Linked DNA regions of Homo sapiens: region 2 is linked to region 1. The links are contacts of gene promoters, found by promoter capture Hi-C in blood cells and fetal thymus (Javierre and others, 2016). All regions are on one chromosome and are shown on one strand. Each heading gives the region's core, a stretch centred on a gene start or on the middle of the fragment in contact. The rest is flanking DNA. Distances are from core to core; before and after follow the strand shown.

Region 1 (7,126 bases), core at 2,753-5,252:
AATTTTAAAGCTGTATACCATTTGGCTTGGGGAAAAAAAGGAGTTGCAGTGACCTACAAAATAATATAGAGTGAGAAGTTGACTCAGTGCATTGATTACTCAATTCAACAAACATTAATTGAGCACTTGCTGTGTGCCAGGCATGGTAATAGGAGCTGGTAAAACAGAGGTAAAAAAAAAAAAAAACTCTTTGTGTCCACAGTCAATTGTTGTCTAGTAGGCAAAGCTAATATAGGAAGATAATTAATCAGAGTGCAACTAGTACAGTCAAAAGAGGGTATTGCAGGTGCAATGGTAACACAGAAAAAGGAATCTCCTTGGAGGAGGAGATACAGCAGCTCATGGAATGCAGGAAGCTGGAGCTGGAATGAAGTTTTCACAGTAAGAGAAAAGGAGAAAGGCATTCTAAGCTGAGAGAACAAGCTCTACAAGGGTATGCATTACCATGATACATTTGGGCAACTACAAGCAGGTGCTACCCCAGATCATAGGGTATTAGAAGGTAGCCAAACAGGAGTGAGGTTAGGGAGGCAGACCCAGCCACATAAGGGAAGAACCTTCTACGCCATGCCAAGGGCTCTACACTTAATTTCATAGACAATGACGATATAGATACTGCAAAAAGCATTAGCTAGGGACTGTCTTTCAAGTTAGCTCTGGGGATCACATGGCAATTAAGTGAAAGGGGAAAGAATGGGGAGACCTAAAAAATCACTAGGGCTGTGAACTTTGATATTGCACTTGACTGCTAGAATATTATGTGAGCCAGGACACTCTGATATGAGGAAAACCAATATGTAATATTTTTATCTTGCAAAGCTGATAATGCAGAGAATTAACAAGTTATGCATGTATAAACAGTAGACTCACAGTTAGGAAGCTGGCAAGTGTCTGTCACTTGAGTCCTGTAGTGTCATTTACCTGATTCACCTTTGGGCTTATCAATAGCATATACAGAGTCTTCATGATCACTGCCTGGGTCTGCTGGGTAGGAGGCGGGTTCACTGTGGAATAAATTAACCCCACAGACTCTAGATTTGCAATGAAGTCCCCCAGCTAGGTTTGTCATTTAAAAAGTGTTCTTCTACTCCTTGCCTGATATAACTATTTTCCCAAATCTAATCATTTCTTATTTTTCAAATCTATTCAAATCGTCAGCATTTATCTCTTCATCTTTTCTATAAATTTTGCCCTTTAAAGCCAATGGTTTTTAATAATAATAGCAAATGTTAATACTTCCATAGCACTTCCTATGCATCTGGCACTATTCTAAATGCTAAATGTATATTAAATGATTAAATTCTCATATCAACCCTATGAGATGAGTACTATTATTATCTTCATTTTTCAGAGGAGGAAACAGCAAGTTTCCCATGACATTAAATAGAAGCAGAGCCACTAATCAAATCCAAGCCATCTGGCTCTGGAGCTGATATTTTAATTCACAAATCTCAGTTTGTAAAGGTACTTAGTAGGAACAAGGGACCAGTGCATCAATTGTTGCCTTAAAGAAAACTTTTCTTGGATGTTCCTTTTCATAAACTTCAAAGTCCTGTAAGCTTTGCCCCTGCACCAAGTTGTAATGCTTTTGTATACACAGTTTGCATTGTTCCAACAACCTTAAGAAACATGTTTGGAAGTACAGTTCAGCCAGACTGAAAGATTACCCCTCTCAACTGCTTTTTGTTTTTGTTTTCGGCAGTTTAACCAAAACTCTCCATCTCACAAATAAAATCCTTCTGTAAGAGTTCTTCCAGGACATGAAACTTACTAAGAATTTGCAGCTCACTAAAATTTCTTCCTTTTAATACTCAAGATTGAAATAAAACCTTTTCTGCAAGGTCAGCAATAACAGATCTAATGTAAGTCCTTTATTGATTTTTAAAAAGTTGATTACATTAATCTTTTTACTTTTTATCTTGTCTTTAGGTCAAAAGTCACCAGTCCTTTTGTGAGAGGAAACTACTTCTCTTATTCTCTGAAGCTTTTAAAGAGAATATAAAAGTAACAAAGTCATTTTTTTAAAAATCAGCCTACCATATAAGGGTTTAGGATCTACTTACAGGTTGAAAGACCCTTGACCCTGCCCAATCTTAGATGTTTCCTATGTCATTTTTGGATTCTGAGCTTTATTTCCAGAAGTGATTAATTATTCAGAAAAAGAAATTAGCTGGCACTTAAATCTTTAAAGTTTTGAAACTTTTTTTTTTCAGACAGAGTTTCGCTCTTGTTGCCCAGGCCAGCGTGCAATGGCACGATCTCGGCTCACTGCAACCTCCGCCTCCCGGGTTCAAGCGATTCTCCTGCCTCAGCCTCCTGAGTAGCTGGGATTACAGGCACCTGCCCCCACGCCCGGCTAACTTTCTGTATTTTTAGTAGAGACGGGAGACGGGGTTTCACCACGTTGGCCAAGCTGGTCTCAAACTCCTGACCTCAGGTGATCCGCCCGCCTCGGCCTCCCAAAGTGCTGGGATTACAGGCGTGAGCCACCGCGCCCGGCCGAAACACTCTATGTGAGCAATTCTTAGAACTTTATGGACTTCTGATTCTGCATACACTCTATAGTAAAATACTTCCCACTTTTTTCCAAGACTTTTTCAAAAAATCAATGTGAATGACCCAAAGGTCAAAACTTTCAGATGAATTTTGTGAAAATTATCGCTAATGCTTCAAAGTGAGAGGATCAGGAAGGTGGGTGTAGAAGAATCTGTGTTTTTCTTCAAATGTTAATGGAGTGGTTTATTAGCACAGACCTTTTAAGCCAGGCCACGAAAAGGCAGCGGGATGTTTTCAAGTCCCCTTGGGCTGGCGAAGCGGGTACTTGCTGTACCTTATCAAGCACTGAACATTGAATACGTGTTGAAAACAGAGCAGATACGCAACCTTAGCAACCACTCACCTCTGCTATTTTAACAAAATGTTAAGCAAGCGAAAGAAAGAGAAAGAAAGACAGAAAGAAAGAAAGCAGATTAGCATACAAGGCAGGACATGCCACCTTTATATTCTGAGCTCTGTCCACAGTGAGCAGGCCGTGTCAAACATCGGGAGAGACAGAGAATGATTGATCATGCAAAGCAAACTGTAGGTTTGAATCCCAGCACGGCCATCTACGAGTTATAAAATCTTGCCAAACTACCTAATGTCTTGGTACATATACCTAGAAAACGAGAATGATCCCAACCTTTAAGATGAGAAGAGAACTGAATGGGAAAAGCGGGTGAGAACAGCTGACCCCAGCAGCCTCCCAGTAACCTAGTTTTCCCTTCCCATCTCCGTGTCTACGGTGTTTGGTGGCCTCATCAACTCCCGTCGCCTCCAGCAGCTCGTTCACTCAGTGAAGGTCCTAGACCGAATGGCCACCTTCCTGTATGTGGGTACTCATCACCCACCACCTTTCCGCTTTTCGGTGCTTTGCCCTTTTTATCTTATCTAGTAGCCAAAGCTGAGACTGTTGGGAGTCATTTCCAGCTCCGATGGTAGAGGAGTAGGGTTGAGGGGAAACGCCAAGGCGTGCTCCACGCCTGCCGTCCGCAGCCCCGTTGGGCTGTGGTACTCTTCTGACCAAAGTCTGGGTCACCGGGAAGCAAGAGGGAGCGCCACTAAAGGTATCTTTTGTGCCTTGTATTTAGCCACCGCATTGCCAGGATGGGAGTGGAGGCGGACGGTGCCCGACACCACGACTCAGGGAGCGATACCTGAGCTCGCTCGGCAATTCCCGGGCTCCGGGGACGGGCCTGGGCGGGGAAGGAGCCGGGGCGCGCAGCAGCACCCGGCGAGACTGCAGGGCGCCCGAGTGGTCGGACGGGGGAGCGAGAGCTAAAGCTTGCGGAGCGCGCCGAGCCGCGGGCGCTGGCGGCCCCGGCCGGGGAGCTGACGCGAGCCTGCCGGGCCGCGGGAGCTGCGGGAGGCGGAGGCCGAGCTGGGGGCGGAGCGGGCGGCGCCTGGGAGGCGGAGGCGGTGTCTCCCAGAGCTGCGCAGGCGTTGCTCGCACCTTGTTGATTAGTCAGTGCTGGGAGCGCTGCTATGGCGTTTCTCAGACCCGCGGCTCCTCCTCACACGCTCGAGGCGGAGGGAAGGAGGGGTAAGAGGAGGAGGAGGCGAGCGGGCGGCCGCCGCAGCTGCAGACCCAGGGCCAGAGGAGGAGGCGGAGCGGGAGCCGCCGCAGCCACCCGGGCCGCCGCCGCCGCCCGCAGCCGCGCGGCTGCTCTGAGTCTTCTCCGGGCGTGAGGGCACGCGGGGCGCCCCAGCCATGCCCCGCAGCGGCAGCTGAGCCGGGCGCCGGCCCCCTCCCTCCGGGCCGCCCCAGTCGCCGCGCCCCCCCGGCTGCCCGCGGCCGGAGCTGCCCGGCGCCTCCCGCGCGCCCCAGACCGCGAGCGCGAGCAGCGGCGGCCGCCGAGGCGCGGGTGGTGCCGGTGGCGGCGGCGGGGGAGCGCGGGACAGGAGGCTTCGGGGAAGATGGACCCGGCGCCCTCGCTGGGCTGCAGCCTCAAGGATGTGAAGTGGAGCTCGGTGGCCGTGCCGCTCGACCTCCTGGTCAGCACTTACCGGCTGCCCCAGATCGCGCGCCTGGACAACGGTGAGTCCCAGCTGGGGCGCGGGGCAGACGGGCGAGGACAGCCGTCTCCACGCGGGTGTGCGCGCGTGTGCTGGAGAGGGTGGGACCCGCGGGGAGTGGGCTGCCCGCCCCTGAGCGCCGGAGTTGGCCCGAGCGGCTGCCGCAGCCCTGGCGCGTTGCTCTCAACTCCCCCCAGCAGCAGACAAGGAGGTGGAAATCAGAGTCCTTGCAGTATAATTAAAAAGGACGCCCTAAAAAAAAAGTCAACATAGGGAGACCTCTGCAGATCGTAATCTTGGACGCCAGATATCCCTCCCCACCCTCCTGCAAGAATTACTCAACCAGGGAAACCCTGAAGAGTTATCTTAGGCAACTTTCTTGAGAATATCATTGTGCTCCGGGTGGCATCTTAATTTGGGTGCTCTCCTCCCTATCTCCCCCATCCCCCGCCAAACAGATTTAAAGGAAAAGCTCCTGGGTGACCATTGAAAAGGATCACATTTCTCAGAGACCTTGTATTACAGCTTGTCTGTTTTGTTTAACCCAACTGAAAGTAATTTGGGGCTGTGTGTAGAAAATGTTTTCAGCAGAAGTGATGGCATGCTTAAGGTTAACTATTAGGTTTAGCGCATTTCCAGTCTGGAAAAAAAAATAAGTCTCCAAAACGTATTGATTCGGAACCTGAGCTCAGAACTAAGAAGGGTGTATTTCCTGAAACTGACCACCAGAAACCCACCCAACTCCTTCCTCCAACTGTTTATTCTGCGGTGTGACAGCTGCAAACACATAGTTGCGCATACTGTCAAGCAAGTAGACACCTTTCAGTTGGAGAGTGATGACACGTAAGGTGGCAATTTAGGTGTGTTTGGTCTTCTCTTGTTTTCATCATAACTTCAGTGGGCTTTGGCGTCATGCGATTTTAGACTGTTTGCAGAAAGAAGCCTGCCCTGCTGTGGGGCAGCTGTGGAAGTACACGGGCCCAGGCTGGCAGGCAGGCAGAGCTGTGACTACACAGGCCAGGTCAGAAGAACACTAAGCAGAAAGATGTCATTTCGAGTCACAGGCACTAGGGTTACTCCTTGTTTCCTGGGGTAGAAGAGTGGGTAACGTGAGATGTATACATACACAAAGGAGTTTTTATTCTGTTTCTTATCTGTGGGGTTTGATTAGACATTTGTATATCTGATGTGAAAAATAGATGCAGGAAAGTTCGTGAAGGCTGGAAAACAATCTTGGCTTGCTTGCTATCCTCGTTTGATTGTTGGTAGTAGTAGGGTGCATTGGGAATAAGCTGGAAGTTTTAAAACTAGTAATGAAGTGCAGATCACAGTAGCTGTTGAAGCGGTGGGGTGGGGGCGGGGGGGGGGGACGCACAGGTGGTGTGTTGAGGCGTTTCTGCTTCGAGTGGGGGTGGGAAAATGTTGTGTGCTTTAAATAGCATCTGCAGACCTGAACTGGTGTGTGTGTTTGTATTCACAGCGTTTCATTTCCTCCTCCAAAATTGTGTATATTGGCAGATTGTGAGTCCTTACCTTTTCCTACCTTCTCTCATCTCTGCACACTGCCACATTTGCTAGCTAGGCAGAGAGCATTGCTGCATGTGGTGTAAAAGCCACTCAAAAGCTTCATTAAACTGAAAGTTTAAAGGGGTGGAATATCTCACTTTCCGACATGACTTTCAGTTTTATTTCCCACTTTTCTATCCCTGCCATTCATAAAAAGGATCTGAATCAGCAGTGTACTCATCCCACACTTCTTTCTAAAATGAGGACGTGGGTAGCAAGTCTTAACACTGTGTCCTTTCAAGCTGTGGAATGGATTTTGATCACTATATGTAATTCCAATTCTTCATTGTAAATTTCTCTTATTTCCTTATTGCCGCTTGAGAATCATAGTGGCACATACAAATTTGGAATCATTGCCAGATACTGCTTTATACCTTGCTTCTTTCACTTAACAATCCCATCTCATTTAAATATTTTTGTCAACATGATTTTTAATAGCTGCCAAAGAGTCCATGGGCTAAGCTATGCCAAGTAATTTCATCCCCTATTGTGGACATTATTAAGCTGTATTATTTTGTGCTATTAAAAATTGTGATGTAATGAATACTGTTGTACATACATCTGGGAGTTTTTTGGTTAGAATGTATTTCTACTTTGCTGAACAAGCATGTCAGTCCTATTAAAATCCTTGATACACATTGTCAAATTGCTTTAGAGACTAAAGGAAATCCTCGTTTACACCAACGTGAGCATTGTGATAGTATCAGTCTGCCCACATCCTGAAAATATTAAGTATTTACCAAAAAATTCTCTTCTAATTTGATTGGGGAAAGTGTTGTTATAGCAGTTTAATTTGGGTAGACTTTAAAAGAGTCAATCATAGATTCTTTGCATGTTTTTAAACATGTTTCACACAGTTTAGGACAGGTTGAGGACATGCTGGTATATTTATAAATGTTATAGGTGAAATCTTAAGTTTTGTGTTGTCCTCATCCTGTGTTTGCCTTTTCCCCAGTTTTAGTACTGCAGGTACATTTTACATCTGCACACGCCCACCCTATACTTA
Region 2 (7,126 bases), core at 3,169-5,668, 310 kb after region 1:
TAGGGAGATTGTGGAAGTTCTCTTATTATTTCTAACCTCTCATTTCTATATAAATGGGGTAAAAGTATCACCTGAATAGGGTTTTGGGAGAATTAAGTAAGTTAATACATATAAACACATAGGAGGGTTATAGTGAATGTTAGCAACTATTAGATATTATTCCATGTTAGTCTGGGTGACCTAATTTGTTCTCATGGTTTCGGTGACCTCCTATCCTTAACCTTCACATTCAAAATCCAATTCCTGCTGGACGTATCTCAAAATCAACTCATTTAGAACCCAATTCACTTTGTTCCTCCTAGGGAAAATCTATCTCCTGCAAGCTTCTCTCTGTTAATGGCTCCTCCCACTACCTGGGCACATCAATAGGAACACCTGAGTTTTCTGGATCTCATCCTGTCCTTCATATTCACACCTAAGCCATATCAAGCGTGGCTCATTCTTCCTCCTCAACATTTTGGAAACCCCCTTCTCTCCTCCCCCACCCATCATCCCTACCACATTATCCTTTCAGATTCTCAGCATCTCTCTCTTCTGGACTTTGGCCTCCTAACTGGCTCCTTCTGTCAACATGACCCCCTCTTCTGTATGTACAGAATGGTCTGTCCAAAATGCAAGACACCGTGTCACTTTCTGTGTTCAGCCCTTCAGTGGCAGCCTAGAAGCTGCAAGAGTAAATGCAATCTAGACAGCATGGCGCTGGAGGTCTTCCATCTATATTTATAACTTTGCCTAGTTGTAGATCTCCTGTCCCCTCCAACCTTGTACTCAATATGCCAATTATACCAAGTGTTTACAGCTTCCTTGCACAGTCCTCCCCAAAGCTACATCCCCAAACTGTTTTGTTTTGAGACAGAGTCTAACTCTGTCACCCAGGCTGGAGTGAAGTAGCGTGATCACAGCTCGCTGCAGCCTTGACCTCCTGGGCACAAGAGATCATCCTACCTTAGCCTCTCAAGTAGCTGGAACCACAGTTGTGCACCACCACGCCCAGCTAATTTTTAAATTTTTTTAAGAGATGCAGTTTCTCTGTGTTGCCCAGGCTGGTCTCAAACTCCTGAGCTCAAGGAATCCTCCCACTTCAGCCTCCCAAAGTGCTGGGATTACAGGCAGGAGCCACTGTGCCCACCCTCTCAAATTGCTTAGTGCCTCCAAGCTAATGCTTAGTTGTCCTTTAACTCTTGGCTTAAGCACCATCTCCTCCGGGAACTCTTCCTGACCTCCAGCTTGAGCCAAGTGCCCTTCCTCAGGGCTCTCACAACATCACATCCAAAACCCAGCACATGAGGGCTCCATGACTTAGTTGATATGTATTAGATGAACTACATTTAATTGATTAAACCATGTTAGATGACATCTTGAAGTCCTTTCCAGTACTATGATATTACAACAGATATTTCTGTTTTGGTAACAATTTTATTGAGATATAATACGCATACCATGTAATTCACCCTTTTGAAGTATACAATGAAGACTGGCTTTTAGTATACTCACGGCGTTAGCTGTCACCACAACAATTTTAGAGCATTTCATTGCCCCCCTCCCCAAATGCTTCTACCATTTAGCAGTTTCTCCCTCGTTCTTCACAGTCTCTCCAGCCCTGTGCAGCCCTAATCTACTGTCTGTCTCTATGGAGTTGCTTCTCATGGACATTTCATATAAATAGAATCATATAATATATGGTCTTTTGTGTCTAGTTTATTTCACTTAGCATAATGTTTTCAAGATCCAGCTATCTCATAGCATATATCAGTACCTCATTTTTTTTTGCCAGAGAATATTCCATTGTATGGATACGCCACATTTTATTTATCTCTTCATCAGTTGATGGACTTTCAGGTGGTTTTCAATGTTTGGGTATTGCAAATAATGCTATTATGAATATTCTCATACAAGTTTTTATGTGAATATATGTTTCATTTCTCTTGTCTATATACCTAAGAGTAGAATTACTGGGTCATATTGAAATTCCGTGTTTAGGCCATGCGCGATGGCTCACACCTGTAATCCCAGCACTTCGGGAGGCCCAGGCGGGCGGATCGAGACCATCCTGGCTAACATGGTGAAACCCCGTCTCTCCTAAAAATACAACAAATTAGCTGGGCGTGGTAGTGGGCGCCGGTAGTCCCAGCTACTTGGGAGGCTGAGGCAGGAGAATGTCGTGAACCTGGGAGGTGAAGCTTGCAGTGAGCCGAGATAGCACTGCCGCACTCCAGCCTAGGTGACAGAGTGAGACTCCATCTTAAAAAAAAAAAAAAAAAAAAAGAAAGAAAGAAATTCCATGTTTAAACTTTTGAGGAACTGCCAGACTACAGCAGGTATATTTTTCTGTTACCCAAATGAAACTGTGGATACCTGAGTGAAACTTAAGTTGCTTTTTAAGACCAGGCCTCACTATGTTGCCCAGGCTGGTCTCACCACAACTCCTGGCCTTGATCCTCCCACCTCAGCCTCCCCGGTGGCTGAGACCACAGGCATGCGCCACCGCACCCAGCCCATTTTTCTTTACAGAAGGTTTGTGCTGCAGTTGGCTGGTGATCCTGGTAGGGATAACTTTTCAGGTTAGCTGGTCCTCTGAAGGGCCACCGTGCATAGCAAACCACTGCCCAGCTGATTGCAAAGAGCCCCTTTCAAAAGCAAGCCCATGCCCTTGGCACTTTAGGTGGGATTTGCTTCTAAATAAAGTCGTAGTCATTGTCCTCTTCATTCATCATCCATTCCCCAGCTACATCTTTAAAAATTAGTCTATTTATAAGAAATGTGGGCCATTATTTGTACTTTGTTCATAAAAAATATTTAAAGTGAAAATGAAAGATATTTCATGAGATTTGTTTTTGTCATTTTCTCAAATACTGTATATCTTTAAAATCTTTTCAACTAATAAAAATTAATATATTTAAAATAGAATGTGGTTCTCAAATTTATTTTGTCATCCAATTATATGATAAACCTACTGGCTATCATATGTTTGAATATTTATATATGTACAATAGCTACAGGTTGTACTTTATGACTTTTTTTGTTTTTTGTTTGTTTTGTTTTGTTTTGAGACACGGTCTTGCTGTGTTACGCAAGCTGGAGTGCAGTGGCATAATCATGGCTCATTGCAGCTGTGATCTCCAGGGCTCAAGTGATCCTCCCACCTCAGCCTCCCCAGTAGCCAGAACTACAAACGCACCACTGTGCCTGGTAAATTTTTTTTATTTTGATTTTTTTTTTTTTGTAGAGACAGTGTCTCACTATGTTGCCCAAACTGGTCTCAAACTCCTAATCTCAAGTGATCCTTCTGCCTTGGCCTCTCAAAGCTCTGGGATTGCAGGTATGAGCCACTGTGCCCAGCTTGTCTGGATGACTTTTATAAAACAAAATAACATCTAAGTCTCTAATTATACCCATATCAATATATCCTGCATAATCTTTCAAAAGTTTAGCCTCCACCAGGTCATTACCCTGTTCAAAGGCCTGCAGTGCCTCTGGGGTAAAGGACAGACTCTCTGAGGACAGACTCCCAGGCGTCCTCATGATCTGGCCCCTCTGCATCTCAGTCTTTTCTCCCTGTGCCACACCCTCCTGAACTGTTCTGGGCACCCTGTTCTACTCACCCTCACCTGAACACACCTTCCTGAGCCTCTGCCCCAAGAATGCTTCCCCCTCCTGTTATACAGTTATGATTCACCTTCCAAAGTCCAGGCCAATGCTAATCCCTTCTATGAAGCCTTCCTCCCTCCTCTGAGCATCTATAGCACTTATTTTTGCCATATGTTGTTGAAAGTGCATTTATAGATATGTTATCGTTTTCCAGTAAGTTATAAGTTCCTGGAGACAGGATGATACCACACCCTTTGCCCCATATCCATAGTTTTTACCCTACTGCTGGTCTGAAAAATTATGATTTTACTAAAATATAATTTCGATTTGTTGGAAGTTTAACAAAAGCTACGTTTTAGGTAGTATCTATCTATATGGTTTATTGTAAATAACATTTCCTTTTAATTCAGTAATTTCCCACGTTCATGTGGTTCAGTGCTTAGCTTTTGGACTTCTTATTGGATAGGTTAAATTTATAACCAATCTTTATTAAATGCCTCCTCTGGGCAAGGTATGGAAATATGATCATTCAGACAAGGCATTGACTCTTACGTCATTTGCCTTCTAGAAATCCAAAGTTTCACGATTATGTTATAAAGGCTGCTGTTCAAATCACTAGGACATGTAGACGTGGTGATAGTATAGATCAAACTAAGGAAGGGGGCTGGGCATGGTGGCTCACACCTGTAATCCCAGCACTTTGAAAGGCCGAAGCAGGTGGATCACCTGAGGTCAGGGGTTCAAGACGAGCCTGGCCAACACAGTGAAACCCCGTCTCTACTAAAAATATTTTAAAAATTAGCCTGGCATGGTGGACGGCGCCTGTAATCCCAGCTACTCCGGAGGCTGAGGCAGGAGAATTGCTTGAACCTGGGAGGTGGAGGTTGCAGTGAGCTGAGATCATGCCACTGCACTCCAGCCTGGGCACAGAGTGAGACTCTGTCTCAAAATAAAAATAAAAATACAAAAATTAGAGCCGAGCATGGTGGCTTGCACCTGCAATCCCAGCACTTTGGAAAGCCAAGGCGGGTGGATCACCTGAGGTCAGGAGTTCGAGATCAGACTGGCCAATATGGTGAAACCCCATCTCTACTAAAAATACAAAAATTAGCCAGGCGTGGTGGCACGCGCCTGTAGTCCCAGCTGCTCGGGAGGCTGAGGCATGAGAATCACTTGAACCCGGGAAGTGGAGGTTGCAGTGAACCAAGATCGAGACACTGCACTCCAGCCTGGGCGATAGAGCGAGACTCAGTCTCAAAAAAAAAAAAAAAAAAAAAAAATTAGCTGGGTTTGGTGGCTCGCGCTTGTAATCCCAGCTACTTGGTAGGCTGAGGCAGGAGAATGGCTTGAACATGGGAGGCGGAGGTTGCAGTGAGCGGAGATCACGCCATTGCACTCCAGCCTGGGCGACAGTGAGACTCTGTCTCAAAACAAACAAACAAAAAAACAAAACAAAAACTAGGGAATGGGACCTTGAGTTTCATGGACCCTTGGGTACAGCAGGTTAGCTCTGAGAAGTGGCAGAGAGGTAGACATTCTCTTCTCCCTTTTGCCCCTTTATGATCCTCTACACTGTGTTGCAATATTCCTCTGCTACTGTGTCCACACCTTCCATTTTCCAAAATATGTATTCTGTTTCCCTTCAGTTCAGCAGACATATATTAAGCACCCACTATTTCAAAGGCATAGTAGAAAGCACTGGTTTCCTGATTCATCAATTAATGCTACATATTATTATAACGTATAATATAGATGTATATAGTCTATAATAATATATGGATTTCTATATGTATATTTTTATAAGCAGAGTAGAGTAGCAACTTAGTGAGGTTCTAAAGTAAATATGTTACATGAACCCCAGAGAAAGTAAAAGTACTCTTAAGAAGTCCTGGCCGGGCGCAGTGGCTCACACCTGTAATCCCAGCACTTTGGAAGGCCGAGGCAGGCAGGCGGATCACCTGAGGTCAGGAGTTGAGACCAGCCTGGCAAACATGGTGAAACCCTGTCTCTACCAAAAAAAAATTACAAAAATTAGCCGGGCATGGTAGCGTGCGCCTGTAATCCCAGCTACTCAGGAGGCTGAGGCAGGAGAATCACCTGAACCCGGGAAGCAGAGGTTGCAGTGAGCCGAGATCGTGCCACTGCACTCCAGCCTGAGCAACACAGCGAGACTCCGTCTCAAAAAAAAAAAAAGTTCTTAAACAGCCTATAAAAGCACGCCATAAAAGGTACGAAGGACGTGAGGCCACCTCAGGAAACAGCCAGCTCGCGACTGCACAGGAGACTCATTCTGGGGTTAACGCTTCTCAAGAGTGAAATTGATGAGTCTTTGCTGTGTATATGCATTTAAGTGTGTGTGCCTGTGCTTTTTTCTAGGGCAAACAAAATTATAAGGATGTGCGCACCAAATACAATAAATCACGGTCTCTTTCTCCTTTCCCGGTTCTAATTGCCCCAATAAACCCGCTCTCCACTCTCCAGCCTGCCACATTCCCCGCTGTTCGGTCTTTGAATGGTCGATGCGTAATGTCACGGTTCTAAGCTGCCACCTTGTGGCCATCCCACGTGTGTGTTTTAAGCAGCCTCTTCAATGTGCCGCTTGCCTAGCTCTACTTGTAATTTGATGCGGTTCCTTTTGCTTTCTGCGTTTTGTGCTTCCTTCCCCCAGAGCTGCTAGTTGTCCTGTCGTAGATTCACGAAACTGGATTACAATACTTGACATCATTCAGGATAACAAGTATACCAAGAGCTTAAAATTATGGCAGAGTTGCACATTGCTTTGAACTCTAGTAGACACCATTATATTTTTCTCCCAAAATACTTTGTAATATTTATTTTAAATCCCCAGTATCCGAAAAGCAACAACGAATTCCTTTCCCAAGCATTTATTGAGCACCTATTAGCCACTGCCTTTGGGAGTTCCCAGCCTCATGAGGCGACATGTGGGGCCATGTGGCAATTGCAAATAATGCAGGTGGACCGCTGTACAGGGGGGCCTGGGAAATCACTCTAGAATCTCTCTGAAGGGGTCAGCAATGCCTTCACAGAAGAGTCCAGGCTGAAGCTTAAGCCTGCAGGTCAGAGGGCCAAGCTTGGAGACAGGTTAGACATCCCAGACAGAAGGAAAAGCAGCACTATTTTGGTGAGGAAGTGCACGCATCATTCTGGGACTTGATCCCCAGAGCTTTGCCAGCCCAAACAGCACTCCAGGTGCTTTGAAGAATGTATTTATGCCAGGCACAATGGCTCACACCTGCAATCCCAGTGCTTTGGGAGGCCAAGGCAGGAAGATCACTTGAGCCCAGGAGTTTGAGACCAGCCTAGGCAGCATAGTAAGACCCTGTCTCTACTACAAATTTTAAAAATTGGCCAGTCATAGTAGCACATTCCTGTAGTCTCAGCTACTTGGGAGGCTGAGGTGGGAGGATGGCTGGAGCCCAGGAGTTTGAGGCTGCCATGAGCTATGAATGAGCCACTGCACTCCAGCCTGAGCAATAGAGTGGGACTCTGTTTCAATTTTTTTAAAATAATGTATTTA

What was found. Contacts are between HindIII fragments. The CHiCAGO score rates a contact against its expected background, and 5 or more counts as called.
Region 2: a fragment that was not itself captured here is called in contact with the fragment with the promoter of GAREM1 in region 1 in 1 of 17 cell types (megakaryocytes); the score reaches 5.2 in megakaryocytes.

Annotation. Positions count from the first base shown.
Region 1 is chr18:32,467,758-32,474,883 of GRCh38, reverse strand. It overlaps GAREM1 (GRB2 associated regulator of MAPK1 subtype 1), which reads left to right and starts at 4,002. Exons shown (of 6, transcript NM_001242409.2): 1 at 4,002-4,576. The coding sequence starts at 4,456. RefSeq lists a silencer at 3,728-4,247. The HindIII fragment of the contact is 2,356 bases long and covers 3,825-6,180 here.
Region 2 is chr18:32,157,220-32,164,345 of GRCh38, reverse strand. No RefSeq gene overlaps it. Among named protein-coding and RNA genes, the nearest start is that of MEP1B, 29 kb to the left of the region's middle. RefSeq lists a silencer at 6,115-6,164. The HindIII fragment of the contact is 4,472 bases long and covers 2,183-6,654 here.